Linked DNA regions of Homo sapiens: region 1 is linked to region 2. Evidence: promoter capture Hi-C in 16 types of primary human blood cells and fetal thymus (Javierre and others, 2016). All regions are on one chromosome and are shown on one strand. Each heading gives the region's core, a stretch centred on a gene start or on the middle of the fragment in contact. The rest is flanking DNA. Distances are from core to core; before and after follow the strand shown.

Region 1 (4,328 bases), core at 1,234-3,733, 350 kb after region 2:
TTAACTACTGATGAATTTAAAAGACTAAACAAGCAACAGCAAGTCAAACCAAAGATTAGTACAAGAAAAAACCTAACAAAAATCAAATAAAAAATAATAAACATAAAATGATTCAAAGAATAACAAACATTAATAAAGGAAGGGCCTTTTTTTTTTTTTTTTGGAAGACATCAGAAAAAAAAAATGGTAGACAGGAGGCAGGACTAAACTGCAGCTCCAGCTGGGACAGATAGGGCAGCAGGTGGAGACCTGCACTGTGAACTCTTATTTCAATAACTACTGCAGAAATATACCAGGAAAGGTGAGATAGTCCAGAGACTCTTTGGAAAAAACAAAAAGCAAAAACAAATTACTTCTGCAGTACCTGGGGACAATCCAAATACTGAGACTGTCCAAATTGTGGAAGTGGGAGAATGGGATCATTTGCCCCTGAAAACACACCCCACTAGGGAACCTAAATGTCGATGTCAGGATAGTAGAATTGCAGCTCACCTGAAGCTGAGTTAATTTAGAGAGCCAAGCCAAATACCTGGGTAGAGGAGGCAGTGGGAAAAGCCTTTTGAGTTCTCTGGGTCCCCAAGAAAGTAATTTCTTACTTTTCTCCCTGGGGTCTTCATGGTGAATGCCAGAGGAACTGGAAAAAGACTACAAGAAGAAAGGAACCTCCAACTGAAATTTTAAACAATTACAATCAAATATGAAGTCTCCTGGTCAGAACTCGAGGAAGAAATTAATCCAGCGTGCAGACTTGACAGGCAGGGAGCGGGGAAAGTCCTGCTTGCTTTCTCAGTATCCTGGTTCAAGTTCTCAGTCCTGCTGGCTCACTGTCTGGAAACTAACTCAGTGCTGCTGAGAGGAACACTGTGGGAGTGAAACTGGATTTTTGGGTTGTATGGAAGCTGAGTGAGGCCTGTAAATGCTGAATTTTCCCCACATCTCTGAAAACCTGAATGGCACAACAGATGCAGCCATAAACCTCCTGGGAACATAACTCACTGACCTGAAAACCAGATCCCCATCCCCATAGCAGCAGCAGCAGCAAGACCTTCCAGAAGGGAGTCTGAGCTCAGACTCATCTCACCCTTCCTCCACCTGATGGTCCTTTCCTATCCAAGCTTGTAACATTGTAGCTGAGGACAAACGTCTTATTCTATTGAGAGTTCTGCGGGTGCATCCACTGTCTGATCCTTTCTATACTTACCACAGCTAGTGCTCTCTTGAAAGCACCAGCTTCTGAGAGGATGTCAACCAGCACTACACTAATGCATTAAAGAACTATACAACTAAGTACCCCCACAGAGCCCATTGTACTTCCCTTTCACCTCCACTGGTGCTAGTGCTGGTATCCATGGCTAAGAGACCTGAATATGGTTCACATCACAGGACTCTGCACTTTAGTATCAGTGTGGAGCTTGTTAGCTTGCTGAGTGGCTAGATCCTGAGGAAAAATAAAAATCACTACAATTCAGCTCAGAGGAAGCCACATCTCTAGTAAGAGGGGCAGAGTACTACATCGAGAGAACCCCAAGGAAGAAAAGAATCTGAACAGCAGCCATAAGCCCCAGATCTTTTTTCTGAAATAGCCAACCCAAAGGAGAAGAAACTGGAAAAGTAACTGGTAATTTGACAAAACAAGGTTCTTTAACATCCACAGAATGTCACATTAGCTCACCAGCAGTATATCTAAACTAAGAAAAAAATCCCTGGATTGCCTGAAGAAGAATTTGAATGTTTTGATTATTAAAGTAAACACGGCACCACCAGAGAAAATAAACTGTCAGGAAATAGATAGCATTAAACAATTACAATTTCAAGAAATAAAGGAAACACTTAGAAAAATGCAAAAAGTACCAGAAAGTCTCAGCAATAGAATCAAACAAGTATGAGAAAATACCTCAGGCCTCAAAGAAAGAGTTTTGAATTAACCCAATCTAAAAAAGACAAAAAAAAAAAAAAAAAAAAAAAGAAGAAGAAGAAAGCCTCCATGATATTTGGGATTATGTTAAGTAATTAAACCTAAGAATAATAGACATTTCTGAGGAAGAAGAGAAATCTAAGATTTTAGAAAATGTATTTGAGGAAATAATAATTCAGAAAAAATTTCTGGCCTTGCTGGAGATGTAGACATCCAAACACAAGAAGCTCAAAGAACACCTGAGAAATTTATTGCAAAAATGTCATCACCAAGAGACATTGTCGTTAGGCTTTCTAAAGTCAAGAGGAAGGAAAGAATCATAATAGCTGTGAAGAAAAGGCACTAGATAATTTATAAAGAATTATAGATTCTTATAAAGATTATTAGATTAACAGCAGATTTTTCAGCAGTAACCCCACAAGCTGGAAGGAATTGGGGCTTATTTTTAGCCTCCTTAAATGAAGCAATTATCAGCCAAAAATTTCATATCCAGTGAAACTGAGCTTCATAACTAAAGGAAACATACATATTTTTTAGACAAACCAATGATGAGTGAGTTCACCACTATCAAGCCAGCACTTAAAGAAACTCCCCCCGCCAAAAAAAACCTCTACATCTTCAAACAAATCCTAGAAATGCATCAAAACAGAGCATATTTACAGCATAAATCTTACAGGACCTATAAAAATAAAAATTAAAGAAGGTGTATTCAGGCATCTAACAGCACAATGAATGGAGGAGTATCTCACATTTCAATAATAATGTCAACTGTAAATGGACTGAATGCTACACTTAGAAAACAGAGAATAGCAGAATGAATGAGAATTCACCAATCAAGTATCAGCTATCTTCAAGAAACTCACCTAACCCATAAGGACTCACATAAACTTAAAGTAAATGGGTGAAAAAAAAATTATGCAAATGGACACCAAAGTTGAGCAAAAGTAGCTGTTCTTATTTTAGACACAGCAAACTTTAAAGTAACATAAGTTAAAAAAGATGGTGAATTATAATACTATGATAAAAGGCCTTGTCAAACAGAAAAATATTACAATCCTAAATATATATGCACCTGACACTGGAACTCCCAAATTTATAAAACAATTGCTACTAAATTAAGAAATAAAATAGATAGCAACACTGAAATAATGTGGGAATTAAATACTGTGGCTACAGCACTGTACAGGTTATCAAGACAGAAAGTCAGCAAAGAAACAAGGGATTTAAACTCTAACCTAAGAAAAATAGAATAGGTATTTACCGAACATTCTACCCAATGACTACAGAATATACATTCTATTCCTTAGCAGATGGAACTTACTCTAAGATAAACCATATGATAGGCCACAGAACAAGCCTCAATAAATTTAAGAAAATTGAAATTATATCAAGTACTCTCTCAGAACGCACTGGAATATAATTAAAAACCAACTCCAGGCCAGGTGCAGTGGCTCATGCCTGTAATTCCAGCAATTTGAGAGGCTGAGATGGGTAGATCACCTGAGGTTGGGAGTTCGAGAACAGCCTGTCCAACATGAAGAAACCCTGTCTCTACAAAAATGCAAAATTAGTTGGGCATGGTGGTGCATGCCTGTAATTTCAGCTACTCAGGGGGCTGAGGAAGGAGAGTTATGTGAACCCAGGAGACAGAGGTTGCAGTGAGCTGAGATCACACCATTGCACTTCAGCCTGGGCAACAAGAGTGAAACTCAGTCTAAAAAAAAAAAAAAAGAAAAAAGAAACCTTTGAAGGTTCCAAGGAACCTTCAAAGCCTTGTAAATACATAGAAATTAAATAACCTGCTCCAGAATGATCATTGGATCAAAAATGAAATCAAGATAAACACTAAAAATTTTTTTGCTCTGAACAATAATGGTGAAAAAAACCTATAAAAACCTCCAGGATACAGCAAAGTGGCTGCTGAGAGGAAAGCTTATAGCTTTAAACCCTTATGTTAAAAAAGACTGAAGGAGCACAAATAGGCAATCTAACATCACATCTCAAGGAACTAAAGAAAGAAGAAACCAATCCAAAACTCAGCAGAAGAAAGGAAATAACTGAGATCAGAGAGGAGCTAAGTGAAACTGAAACAAAAATATACAAAACATAAAAGAAACAAAAAGCAGTTATTTAAAGACAAATAAAATTGATAGACCATTGGCAATATGAACCAAGAAAAGAAGAGAGAAGATCCAAATAATTAGAAAGAAAATGAGAGATATTACAACTGACACCACAGAAATACAAAAGATTGTTCAAGACTACTATCAACAGTTTTACATACAGGAGCTAGAAAACCTAGAAGAAATGAAAAAATTCCTGAAAATGTACAACCCTCTTAGCATAAACTGGTAAGAATTAGAAACCCTTAGCAGACCTATAACAAGGAGTGAGATTGAAAAAGTAATTTAAA
Region 2 (4,211 bases), core at 483-2,982:
TTACGAAAAGATGCTCAACACTACTGTATCATTAGTAATTCAAGAAGTCCAACTCAAAACTCTATGAGATCTCATACACATTGTAATGGTCAAATCAGTAAGTCATGTAATTATAGTATTGGTGAGGACATGAAGAAACTAGAACGGTATTCCACTTTAGATGGAAATTAAATGATGAAGATGCTTTGGAAAAGAAAAGTTTAAACCTAAAGTTCCCATATAACCCACTAATTCTACTTGTAGGTGTATACACACGAGAAATGACACTAAGCATGCACACAAAAACCGGTACACAAATGCTAATAGCAACATTATAATAGCTAAAAGTAGAAATTGAAATATCTATTTACTAATGAATTCATAAAATATAAAGCTGTATTATAATGAATTATCTTGAACAGAGAAAAAAGATCTCATCATTTGAAATAATACAGGCTCTATAACTAATTTTATGAAATAGAACTCTATAACTCTAACTTTATGAAACAGAAAAAGTATGTAGATAAAACTAGGAAAAAGAAAGCAGAAAATTAAGTAACAACTTTTGAAACAGGAATATATATGTAATGTAGTATAATAAACTCATGAAGCCGATAATCTAGATGAAATGGATAAATTGTTAAAAAAAAAAACGGAAATGCCAAGAATCGTACAATACGAAACAATTGTCAAACTATCAAACTTTAAGGCACTTCTGGCAGTGCCCTTCCAAATAAAATCTACCATTTGATTTTTAAAACTTACCTTTTGCGTATTTTTCAAAAATATATGGAGAACAAAAAGATACTACAGTAGTGAACTGATTAAAAAAAAACAGAATAGCAATGTAGGGGGATTTTTGCTTAACGGGTGTAAAATATTGTAAATAAAATTATAGGAAATAAAGTGTAACATCTTGTTTTGAAATAAAACATCGCAATAAAGTATAATTTCCCTTAAAAACAGCATGATATTTCCACATCAAAAAACGGATCATTAGCAGTGTGTTTCTTTTGATTTATGGTACGTGTGTTTAGCGATGTTGAAGGTTTACTGTAATCTGTCCAGGTCTTTGTGATCATTTTAAAATTTAGGGTGCTCCTAGGTAATTTTTAAGGGATGTTTATCATGTGCAGTAAAGGTTTTATTCAAAAACATTTAGCACTTCTTTTCCCCGTCCTAAAGTCCAAGCTCGAGTTGGTAAAAAATCCAACGACAAATGTGCCCACTTGAAGTGCACTGTTAATGCAACAGTTTACAAGAACATAAATACATTGTACCGGCATCCTGCCTCCTAAACGTCTTGTGACAGGAACGTTCTCGAGCTGAGAACCCAGTGAGTCTTCAGAGAATGTTAGTAAACACTTTCACATGAACGGATATCGCCGGCGGTTTGTCCTGGCAGGAAAAAAAAAAGGTGCGTTTCTACGGACATTTCCGCAAAGGAGGAATTTTCTCCGAGAAATCCTTCGTTGATCAGCACCACAGCCTTTTACGGTCCTTCCCTGCAATACGCAGGCGTAACTTGCGCAGTGGTCCCATTTTAAAAAAGATCCGGCCATACTATTTTTATCTTGCTTTTTCGTTCTGTCGCAGTACTGTTTAATATGAGTCCAGCGACGGCTCTGTGACTGTTTTCCTCTGGTAAAATCGCTCTTGCGTCCTCAGCGTTTATCTCAGGTGCGGAAGGTCTCACAGGTTTGGAAATAGCGCCGGAAAAATCGATCCGCGGAGTGAGACGGCTCGTACCACACTGCAGGGCCCGGAGGTCAAGATGGTGGCTGTAAAACTAGGATCCCTGACGATTGGTAAGCAGCTACGGGATTAAAGTAACCTTGAAATTCTCAAGAAAATGAAATTTTCATAGGCCTTTTAGTAGGAGGAACCAGCGCGTCATTAAAGACAATGTGATTCTTATTTTACAGCTTAGCATTAAGGCCCGACATGGAACCGGGGTGTGACGAGTTCCTGCCGCCACCGGAGTGCCCGGTTTTTGAGCCTAGCTGGGCTGAATTCCAAGACCCGCTTGGCTACATTGCGAAAATAAGGCCCATAGCAGAGAAGTCTGGCATCTGCAAAATCCGCCCACCCGCGGTAAGTCTTTGAAACAAAATTTGGGAATGGGTAGCCTTTGGTTTGAACGTTGGGGCAGTTTACCACTTGGCGAGGCGTTATTTACACTCATGACCAGAAACCCTTAGCACCAAATTTCTCATTTAACTTTTCTGACCCGAACAAGCTGGCATCAGAATATTAGTATCAGATCGCCACATTCCACGGGGTTCTAAACATCTGACTGCTGTAGGGACAAAAATATAAGATTCAAATATTTCTACGTTCTGCTGTTATTAAATATAGTTTAGGCATACACAAGCTTTTATTACATTTAACCGCAAAAAAATAGCTTACTCAGAAGTACTTGATCTATGACAGAAGCAAGTTATATAAGCTTGTGTGTTAACCACTTGGACTGGTGTTTTCTTTCTTTGATATGACCTTAGATGTATGTAGCAAATATAGCAAATAATGGGAGTGATGTGGCATCCTTTGCCATCAATTAAATTTATTATTAAACGTAGACCATTTTGGGTTGCTATACTGAAAACTACTAAATGAACCTCGTAGAAGTTTGACTGAATTAAGAATGTAAACTGAAATAAGCCTGGGCTGTCGTCGTGAACAACTAACACAATATTCAGAGAAGTCAAAAAGTTTTCGCAGAGCATACAGCTTTTTTCTCATATATTGAACCAGGCTGCAACGTTATTTTTATGTGGATGTTCGCACTTCTCAGCATTTGCAATTAAACTTTTTCGTACTGCTGGGAGTGGGAAGAGATAATGGCTTAGGTTTTAAAAAGTGAAACAATTTTTTATCTGCATTACATTTATCTTCATTTTAGTAAGGACTCATAACCCAAATAGCATAGTGTTTGTTCAGATGTGCGTCATTCCTTGGAAGTCGAGTCGCTTTCTAGCCTTGGGATTATAGAGGTTTTTTTTTTTTTTTTCGTCTGTTACGAAGGACACATATCAAGGAGAGTTTTGGATTTGCAGGGTTTTTCCTTTTTTTTTTTTTTTTGCAGTTAATCTTGATTATGAAGAAGGAATCATTTGAGGCCCTTGTGTACAAAAATGGTTACCAGAAGACTTTAAAAGAGTGGGAACAAATGATTGTGGTTTTCACTATCTTCATCCTTTACTGTGCCATAGTTACCAGGTCCTTACACTTTCTTCTAGGATTGGCAGCCTCCTTTTGCAGTAGAAGTTGACAATTTCAGATTTACTCCTCGCGTCCAAAGGCTAAATGAACTGGAGGTAAGATTGGGAGGCACACTTTTTTTAAAGGAATCTGATCTTTAATCTTGCCGTTGTAGTTTCATAATAATGTAGAACTTAAGTTTTGAAATCTAATGTATTGAATTTGAACCCGAACTCCACCATTTTCCAGAATACTGATTTTGGAGAAAGTCTTCTATAAAATACATAATTTATGTCCACAAAAATGGTAGAACACAAAGGCTTTAAATATCTGAGGAAGAATGATGCATTGTTTCGCTGTTCAATAGTTTCAGGTTAGAACTATCAAAATGACAGTACCTTTCCCATTTTGTCTTCTCGTACTCACATATTTAATGAATGAATTTTTTTTTTTGAAACAGAGTCTCACCCTGTCTACCAGGCTGGAGTGCAGTGGCGGGATCTCGCCTCACTGCAACCTCCACCTTCCAGGTTCAAGGGATTCTCTTGCCTCAGCCTCTCAAGTAGCTGGGATTACAGGTGCACACCAGCAGGCTCAGCTAATTTTTGTATTTTTAGTAGAGATGGAGTTTCACCGATTTGGTCATGCTGGTCTCCAACTCCAAACGTTAGGTGATCAGCCTGCCTTGGCCTCCTAAAGTGCTGGGGTTACCGGCGTAAGCCCCTGCACCCAGTGTGACTAAATTTTTTTTAGTTCTTTAACAGAAGCAGAGTTCAGACAAGAAATAGGATCTTTTAAATATCCAGCAACAGAGTGATGGTATTACATATGTTCTGCTTTAATAAAATGTCAGAGGCAAACTTGCTCTTTAAAGCAGTCAACTCAGTCTTCACAGTTTAGTATTCAATATAGAAAGTATATGAATGATTTGTCATTTTCTTTTACTCTTAGGATTTTGACTATGATCAGTAGCTAGAAGCTGTGTATGAGTTAGAGTAAGAAAGCAGTGATTCAGAAACTGGTTTTGTGTC

The links. Contacts are between HindIII fragments. The CHiCAGO score rates a contact against its expected background, and 5 or more counts as called.
Region 1: a fragment that was not itself captured here is called in contact with the fragment with the promoter of KDM5D in region 2 in 1 of 17 cell types (naive CD4 T cells); the score reaches 5.4 in naive CD4 T cells.

What each region holds. Positions count from the first base shown.
Region 1 is chrY:19,392,671-19,396,998 of GRCh38, reverse strand. No RefSeq gene overlaps it. Among named protein-coding and RNA genes, the nearest start is that of TTTY14, 320 kb to the right of the region's middle. The HindIII fragment of the contact is 2,732 bases long and covers 1,118-3,849 here.
Region 2 is chrY:19,742,247-19,746,457 of GRCh38, reverse strand. It overlaps KDM5D (lysine demethylase 5D), which reads left to right and starts at 1,732. Exons shown (of 27, transcript NM_004653.5): 1 at 1,732-1,787; 2 at 1,905-2,073; 3 at 3,219-3,296. The coding sequence starts at 1,924. It overlaps KDM5D-DT (KDM5D divergent transcript), which reads right to left and starts at 1,673. Exons shown (of 3, transcript XR_938630.4): 1 at 745-1,673. The HindIII fragment of the contact is 5,320 bases long and covers 1-2,355 here.